Regions from separate parts of the Homo sapiens genome. Here regions 1 and 2 are each linked to region 3. The links are contacts of gene promoters, found by promoter capture Hi-C in blood cells and fetal thymus (Javierre and others, 2016). All regions are on one chromosome and are shown on one strand. Each heading gives the region's core, a stretch centred on a gene start or on the middle of the fragment in contact. The rest is flanking DNA. Distances are from core to core; before and after follow the strand shown.

The links. Contacts are between HindIII fragments. The CHiCAGO score rates a contact against its expected background, and 5 or more counts as called.
Region 1: a fragment that was not itself captured here is called in contact with the fragment with the promoter of RNF217 in region 3 in 3 of 17 cell types (M1 macrophages, M0 macrophages and M2 macrophages); the score reaches 9.4 in M1 macrophages.
Region 2: a fragment that was not itself captured here is called in contact with the fragment with the promoter of RNF217 in region 3 in 1 of 17 cell types (M0 macrophages); the score reaches 5.2 in M0 macrophages.

What each region holds. Positions count from the first base shown.
Region 1 is chr6:125,764,427-125,767,639 of GRCh38, reverse strand. No RefSeq gene overlaps it. Among named protein-coding and RNA genes, the nearest start is that of TRE-CTC1-7, 14 kb to the left of the region's middle. The HindIII fragment of the contact is 1,937 bases long and covers 966-2,902 here.
Region 2 is chr6:125,792,099-125,794,942 of GRCh38, reverse strand. The region is part of intron 1 of NCOA7 (nuclear receptor coactivator 7); the gene reads right to left. Among named protein-coding and RNA genes, the nearest start is that of NCOA7, 2.6 kb to the right of the region's middle. The HindIII fragment of the contact is 650 bases long and covers 1,001-1,650 here.
Region 3 is chr6:124,961,093-124,964,038 of GRCh38, reverse strand. It overlaps RNF217 (ring finger protein 217), which reads right to left and starts at 1,602. Exons shown (of 6, transcript NM_001286398.3): 1 at 613-1,602. The coding sequence starts at 1,494. It overlaps RNF217-AS1 (RNF217 antisense RNA 1), which reads left to right and starts at 1,012. Exons shown (of 7, transcript NR_026876.1): 1 at 1,012-1,216. The HindIII fragment of the contact is 3,639 bases long and covers 324-2,946 here.

The DNA.
Region 1 (3,213 bases), core at 685-3,184, 800 kb before region 3:
TGAATAAGCACCAAGAATTTTAAGAAGCTCCCACATCTTAAACAAAATTGCTTAATAAACTTGATTTAAGTCATTAAACATGCATTTTCCTAGATATGGCTGTGAAGTTGCTGTATTATTAAGCAAACAACTTCCTTGTTAATGTCTTTACTGTATCAGTAGAAAATATACACTTACACAATTTTTTTTTTTTTTTTGAGATGGAGTCTCGCTTTGTTGCCCAGGCTGGAGTGCAGTGGCGTGATCTCGACTCACTGCATCCTCCACCTCCTGGGTTCAAGTGATTCTCCTGCCTCAACCTCCCAAGTAGCTGGGACTACAGGTGCCTGCCACCACGCCTGGCTAATTTTTGTACTTTTAGTAGAGATGGGGTTTCATTGTGTGAGCCAGGATGGTCTCAAACTCCTGACCTTGTGATCCGTCCACCTCGGCCTCCCTAAGTGCTGGGATTACAGGCATGAGCCACTGCGCCAGGCCGGAATTTTAACTCTTAAACTATACATTTAAGCATAACAAACAAATAACTTTCACCACTTCTCTCACTGTGTCATATCCTAAAGACAAACAATTTGTGAACTTTGTTTCTTCTTTTGTCCAAGCTCCTGATATCCAGAGCAAAGGGATTGTCTTGTCTGCTGCATCTTGGTGTTTGGAGAAGTGGCTAAATGCATTTATATCGAATTATTGTTCCTGTGTTGTTTTGTCTGTGGCTCCCACTCTTGGGAATCCTTGGGGTTTGAGGATCGCATCAAAAAAGTATCTCTGGTATGAGAAATGGTCAGTGTGGCCAGATAATTCATGGGTTGAGCACTGAGACTCGTTTCCCATGATCATCTTGGTCAGGAGGCACTTGGTGTTTTAAGCCTATTCTCTTGATGCAACACATATGCCTTAAATCTGTTTAATGATTTAGCAGTGATGGACTCATGAATATATTTCAGATGGGCCCAACAGCCTCTCAAGCTTCCTTCCAAGTATCAGTAAAAGACGTGTTACCACAGGCAAGGTTTTTCCCCTGAGCTTGGCCATACCCTCATCTCGCTTATCTGATGGTCACCAGCTTGCACAGGTCTTTTTGGTTTTTGTTTTTGAGATGGGACCTCCCTCTGTCACCCAGGCTGGAGCACAGTGGCATAATCATAGCTCATTGCAGCCTTGAACACCTGACTCAAATGATCCTCCTGCCTCAGCCTCCCATGTACTTGGAACTACAGGCACATGTGTGCTCGGCTTGCACGTGAGTTTTCATGAGTTACCACACCCAACCATTTGTACTATTTTATGCTTATGTTTTCATTGTCAGAAAGATGTCAAAACAATAAAATAAATCTAACAGTGGCTGCTTGTAAGATCAAAATGTGACTGGCTTAGTTCTCATTTAAGAGTGGCTTGTGCCTGGGACAGAAATGTGTTATCATGAGAGTCATGGTCTATGTGCCTCTGTGTTTTGCCCTCATGACTGCAAACACGTCTCCATCATCTTGCCAGATCCCAGACAAGCCAATTTGATGCAGCTGTGCTGGGACAGACTGGTTAGGACAGGGAAAGAAGCCAGTCATTGCTGGCATAAGGGAAAGTCTACCCAAACAGAGCTATGCAAAGCTCCAGGCACATTGTTTTGGTGGAAAAAGAAAAAAAAAAGTCTTTAGGTTCTCTGCAATTAAGGAAAAAGGTTAAAAAAGAAGTGCTGAAAGACCTAGGAAGGTAAATCCTGTTCATCTTGATAGCTTATAATCAGGAAAGGAGGGGTTAATGCAACTAAGATATTCATTTGTGTTCAGAGTCATAATTTATTACTACACTTATACAAGTAAAACATTACGAATAATAGCCATTCTTTGCAAAATACTTTTTCTTCTGCATGAGAAAATGTGACTTTGTTTTCATTGTAATGAAAACACAAGACTTACAATGCAAACTTGATACAAGAAACTTTAGAGTTAAGTGCCAAGGTTATTCAACCTCTTTCTACCCCTTAAAAAAACTTATAATACATTCTGTTACATCCATGTCACACTTCATATGCATGAATCTCTTCATTTCCACACACTAACAGAATGACAACAAAGGTCAAGAAAACCAGATATTTATAGAAGGCTAAGAACTTAGAGGCATCTAAAAACGTCTCTGGGCATAAGATTTTTGAAAAATTATACACGTATTAACTGTTAACTGCTATCAAAAACATTCTTTAACTCTAGGCTGAAGAGTTAGGTCAGTTAAAAGGCCCTTTCTGATAACAAGAATTATTAAAGTGAATGGGTTACTGGACAGGTCTTCATAGGTCAAATGAAGAATTTTGTTTTATGGCATATGGACCTATGGTGTATAAACATTCAGAATAATCCAGCATTCTCCCTAAACAACAACAACAACAATTTCTTATCTTTTAGATATGGAAGATTGGAAATGATTTTTTTTTTCAAACTCAATTTGCTTAGTACCTTAATACTTCACCATTTTGCCACACCTTTGTCAACCACTTTGAGTGAGATGATAGAATTTTCTTTGGTAGCCTTTAAAGATTAAGCTCATAGATGAAGAAAAGATACGTGTGACTTGATTGAAAGTTGAGTTAAAACTAGAGAACTGCCAAAAATAATTTCCCTTTTATGTTGCATTATAAAGTGGAGTTATTCCTTTTTTCATCCTTTCATATATTAAAAGAGTGAGATGGAAGTGGTTTTACGATAATACTGTAGCTGGATTTACTGTCATCTTTAGTCCAAACTGATCCTAGGCAGGCTGAAATCCTGGGGGAGTCTGGATAACTCTGAGACCAAAAAAGCAGTGTCAAAAGCCACAGCCTAGAGGTCAAAAGTATGAATTTAAGTATCAGATAGTTTTCAGATAGTTTAACTCAAAGCTCAACCTGCTAGGAATGGCCTTGGACAATTAAGCTTTATTCTCCAATTCCTAATATGTAAGTAAGTAAACTATTATCTACTCTACAGGACAGTTATGAGGCTTAAATGAAGAAACAGATTTCAAGCACTTAGCATGGGGCTTAGTATAGAGAACAACTGACCAGTATTAGCAGTTAGTATCATAATTGATTTTCTTTTTCAGACCTGCACCTTACAGTGGGTACTGGTTCCCACAGTCAGAGCAGATTCCCTGACCACTTCCTTTCCTTTCCTTTGAAGTTAGAAGTAAGGGAGCCATGGGAAAAAGCACCACCTCATGCCTAGAGAACCATTTCCCGTCTGCCTC
Region 2 (2,844 bases), core at 76-2,575, 830 kb before region 3:
AAGGTCAGATTGTCGATTCACTCTGGTGAGTGTTATGCTAAGTTAGGCTAGCCCTTCAGCTAAAAATGACTTTATTCTATTGAAACTCCTGTTCAACCTATATAGCGTTTAAGGCAGGTACTCCAAATATAATTGACTTAAATTGAATGGCTTTATTAATTTCAAATTAGTAATGAGTGAATATAAATGTAAGAGTTTAAAAAAAAGTTTTGTAAAACTATGTAACATTGTTTTCCATTTGGCTAAGTTCAAATGTACTAAATTTGCAATTCTTGTTCAAAACATTTAATGTAACCCATTAAACTTGTTCATCAAAAACATACTGTGTCCAGAGATCAATTGTGCAATGGCTTCATTTATTTGGTTTTATGTTTTATAATCTGCCTTGTTCCACAAAGGATATGAGTCATCTTAAAAGAATATAATTCAATCAAATGGAAAAGTATAATTAGATAAACATCAGAATCAAGAAAAACAAGGTAGAACAGAAGCTCAAGACCATAGGAAAAGATAAAATATTGATATTAGGTTATGAATTTTTATATGATTATTAAAATTGAGTTGCAAATTTGTTCATTTCCTAGTTGCCAAGTTAGAAAGGGAAATATAATCAATGATTTGATTCTCATTTTGCATGATGAAAAGAACACACACAAACACACACACACAAGTTGTTCAGGGTAAGTAAAGCTTTTCTTTGGCATTTAAAGTTAAATGGAATTTCTTGCATGAGTCTTCAAACAGAAACTATAGAAAGTACCATGATCATAACCACATTTCGAAAGTAACATAATAGTAAGTTTCCTCTGACTGTATTAATAAAATCCCTCAGTGTGGGCATATGGGGGGGTGTTAAGGATGCAAAACAAGGTACCAAAGTACAGCTTCTGAAGATCTGGCTAGACTTCTGGTCTAACAGCTAGTATTGGAAGGGAATAGGTTGACGTCATGGCCTTTGTTCAGCCAACCCCCCGTAAACATCATTTCTCTCAATTAAGCTTCTGATCAAATTTAGCAACAGAAAATTCATATTCTCTGGCATGTACAGAAACAAATGCATTTTGTATCACTGTTGAGGGGAGACCAGTAGACAACAATCACTCTTTATGTATTCACTATATCTGAAATTCAAGGTCATACAAATTTACTTCTGTATATTTTTTTCTGCAATCAACAATTCTGATTTTAGCACAAGTGAATTGAGTGGATCCTGTTGAATTTAAACAAACAAAAAATTATGGGCTGGGATTTTAAAAACAATAGTAAATGGCATTTAGCAAGAAAGGAATAGAGGTTTCTAAAATACAGCCTTTAGGAAGATAAAGAGAGGAAATCCAGGTCTTGGATTGCATTCTGGTGGTGCTTGTGGGGGCGGAGTGCTGGGGGATCAGGAGGTAGGACCCAAAAGTGAGTCAACCAATCCCAGAGGCACTGCGCATTTGGTTGTAGGACACACAGAAGAGAAAAATACCTCTTCAAATCTGAGATTAGAGCTTTTATTTGACTGTGATTCCAAAGCCAAAGTAATAGCAGTTAAACTGAGCAGTTAAAGGCTCAACTCCTACTTGTAAAATGAACAAATAAGTGCTTATAAGTAACAAGGTAAAGAGAGCTTACTGTAACCAAAGGGGAGGGCTTTTTTGAAAAGCTTAAAGTGTGCAAGGAAGAGCCAGGTAAATTAATTGCTCAATACCCTGGGTTACAAATTTAAGAAGTGTAAAATGTAATTATCTTTATTACAGGAGGGAATTTTGGCTTTGTTTTAATAAATCATAACAAATTAATTTTTTTCATAAGTTCCCTCCCACTGTTGGTTCCTGCAGTCTTATTAACTTTTATAGGAAAGTTTTATTTCCTTATCCATCTAGGAAGAAAATAAGTAGGTTGGAGAAGCAATAGTAATAAAGTATGGCCTACCATATTGTGTAAAAATAAGTCATTTGAGTAATATGAAGTGAAGATGGTAAAGATGCATTAAAATGTCAGAAAGAAAACCTGGGAGCATGCCCAGATAATATTGTTAAGCAGAGACTGAAAGAAGTTCACACTGACTCATGAAATTCATGTGATGGAAAAAAGATGAAATCAAAACAGAAAATGTCATAGTGTAAAAATAAAGCAAATAAAGTTTGATGCAGTTAACCTTGTTTTTCTTTTTTTTTTTCAAAATGATATAACATTTTAAAGCAGGAAGACACTGTATCTTGCAAACCCTCATTTCACAATCCCCTGGCTGTCAAATTTGGAAACTGATGTGTTTCTATACCGAGGAGAAAACAGTTTAAATTGTGTATCTATATCACACATTTTGAATCATTTAAGAATCACAGACACTTCTACATGTTTTATTTCTACTTTTGCCTGTGATAAAAGACATGATAATTAGATCAAACCTGAAAAACTCAACTCTAAAATAAGTGAATACATCACTTATTAACCAAATCATTGTTTCCTCTGGCGTAACTTACAATTTTCTTTAAAACACGACTTTTACTTTTTAAATTGTGTTTGAGAGCACAGTTGAAGTTGGCATGATTACCAGTGAGACTGGAAATTTTGCAAGCTTAGACATGAAATGAACTTAAGAGTTGGGGAGAATTACCTCATAACCTTGATGACATATTACAGAAAGATAGCATATGGTCCTAAAGATGTCAGAATTGAAATATAAATGTTAAAATAACTGAGTTTGCCTATTTATACAAAGAGGCAATTTTTGAAATTCAATTAAATTTCACCGGCTACAGAACAATTCTGTGATTCTAAATTGTGGTTTTTAGATGAAAGCTTGAAACACAGTTCATTCATTCAACAAATAACTAATGGGTACTTATTCTGCATAAG
Region 3 (2,946 bases), core at 353-2,852:
TGTTTTGCTCTTTCTGTTTTGCTTCCCTCTTAAAGAGTGCTGGCTTAAAACCTCAGTGAAAGAAAAGTACTTCAACTTTACTGTGGAAAAAGGAAACTGAAAAGTAGGCAAAGGCCAAGGGATACATTTTTTTAAACATTCACTCTTTCCTGGAATATACAAATGAAGCAAAATTACAAATTCATGTATTATGGGTCTGAAATATTTATTCCAATTCTTTTCTCCACCAGCTCCATAAATATTTATTCTATGCCCACTGCTTGTTAGTTTCTGGGATACCAGGCCGATGAGGCAGTCTCTTCCTCTCCTCCTTTGAGCAAGCTTGTGCTTGCAATCCTGTATAAGAAATAAGAGGAGGGCAACAACTTGTATCTTGTGCCTTCTACACATGCCAACCATAGCCTGAAGTTCACAGCAAAGTTAAATTCCAGTTAAGTAAACCAGTGAGGTCATAATACACTTAAATAACAACTGAGACGTGAGAAACTAACAGAGATCCTCAGTAAGTGTGTCGGTCACCTCTTCGCGCGAGCAGGGAGATCAGATCGAGAGCAGGACCTCCTCGCCAGTGATTTGGAATGATAAATGGGGAAGAGAAGGGGGTGAAGTTACCTGGGCGCTCAGGTAGACTTTGAGGCACTCCTCGCACACGGCCTTCTTGCAGCAAGGCAGGGGCTTGATGGGCTTGTCTTCCAGGCACACCCGGCACATCAGCACCATGAGGGGCACATAGGGATCCCCTACACCGCCCAGGCCAGAGTAGGGTGGAGCTCCCAACAGGCTGGGCATGGAGAACGGCTCGGGCGCCAGGTAGAACTCCAGCTCGATGCTGCCGCCGTCGGGGGAGAGGGAATCCGTTGGGAGGGACAGTCGGGGGCTGGGGAAGGAAGAGCGGGTGCTGGGAGGGTTCAACACTGGCGGAGCCCCAGGTGGCGACGCGGGCGGCGAGAGCTGCTCCGAGGCGGGGGCCTCGGGCAGGTCGCTCTCCACGCAGTACACGGAGCAGAAGACTTGTCTCTTGGCGAGGGACGGGCGCCGCTGACCCAGCACGTCCAGGACCAGTCCGTCGGCGGCCCCCACGCGGGTCCTGGGCTCCAGCTCTTCGCCGGGGGGCGCCTCCTGCTGTTCATCCCCTCCCTCTTTTCGATCCCCAGCTTCCTCCTCTTCCTCCTCCAGCTCCAACTGCAGTGGCAAGGTCTGGGGATTGAGAGGCCCGGTGAGTGCCAGTCCCGCAGGCTGCGCCGGTGCTCGGCTCTTACTCCAGCCCGGGGGCCCCAGGCTCCTCGCGGGCTCTGGGGCGCTGGTGTCCGCGCAGCCCCAGTCGCTTCCGCAGCCACCGCCGCTCGGCTCCGCGGAGGCGGCGCGCAGCGGGGGCGCCCGGGCGCTGTCCCCCTGAGGCCTCGGGGGCTCAGGGTGGCCCGCAGTGCCACTGGCCAGGGTCTGCGACTCCTGGGGCCCGCCGCCGCCGCTCACCGTGCTCTGCTCCTCGCCCATCGCCGCCCGCGGCCCGCGCCGCCGCTGCCCATCCAGCCGCCGGGACCCCCACCCGGCGCCCGCGGGCAGCGGGGGCAGTGGCTCGGCTCGACTCGCGGCTCCGCTTCTGCTTCCGGGTCCTTCCTCCTGGGCTGGGACGCCCCAAGTCCCCTCCGGGGAGCCCGTGCTCCGAGGCTGCGGCGCGTGGGGAGCCTGGCCCGGCCCGCCGCTCCTCCTCGTACTCTGGCGCGGCGGGGCACCGCCTCGGGGGCGCCGAGGGCCGCTCGCTCTGGGCTCGGGCGCGCCCGCCCCACATGCAGCTCGGGGCGGCGCCGCAGCCCCAGCGAGCCCCAGGCGGGACAGAGGGGTCTGGGAGGAGACGGCCGTCAGTCCCGCGCCATCACCGGTCCCGGCTGCCGGACGCGCGGCCCGAGGGCGGTGGTCAAAGGGTCGAGGGGCCTGTGGCGCCGCCGCGGCGCGCACCAGGAGGTGCAGCCGGAGCGCTGGCCAGCCGCAGGGCCCCTGGGGGAGAGGCCGGAGCGGGCGACCTCCCTCTCCCCGCGCTTCACCTACAGCCCTCCTCGCCGCCCCTCACCCCACCCCTTTGGCGCACACCTCCCCACACGTACACACGCGCGCAGGCACCCGCGCACACACACACGCACACCCTGAGTGGGTGTGATCTAAGAGCTGAGATGCGCTTTCTCGCCCGGAGTTCACACTCAGCCTCAACAAAACCCTCAGAGCAGGCAGGCTCCCCTTTGGTCTCCGCATTCAGTAGAACTTCCTACAAAACTACACTCAGCTCTGGAATTAGTAAACGCTGGCTATTTAGGATGTCGAGTTCAGAGAAATAATGCTAAGGATTATGAATTCTAAATGCTGTATATTACAACTCTGTTTTTCTGCCTAGTGGAGTAGGAAGAATCTTCGAAACCCATAAATAATCGAAAAAGCACTTTCGATCTACTCCTCCAACTGGAATCCTTAGAAGAGTTGATAACTAATTTAAAATTTCTCTCTTTTTCTTCGCCTACAGTGTTCTCTTAGAAGTTTTTTTTTTTAACCCTTTTCAGCATTCCAAAATGGATAGCACAAGGTGGAAAAATGTCCTGACCTAATTAATAAACTGGATCATTAGTGGAAATCATGGGCAGTTTCATTAGCATAACCATATTTATCCTCAAAACTGTTTCCAAAACAACAATTATATGTGAGCCAGGACTTAATTATGTGTTGATCTATCTTTATTTTACAGGAAGTATTACTCACCCAGACACTGGTGTTTTAGTTCCCTAAAGCCAGTGAAAACATTTTTGGGAAGCCAGCCCTTGTTTTGTTTTTTTTCTCCTGAGAGGGAATTCAATTTACACATTCATGTAATAGCAAGGAACTGTAAAGTGTGTAGAATTTTATTTTTTAATCTCGAAGTTGTTATTGGGTTGTTCTAAAATATTTTCCAAATCAGATGCA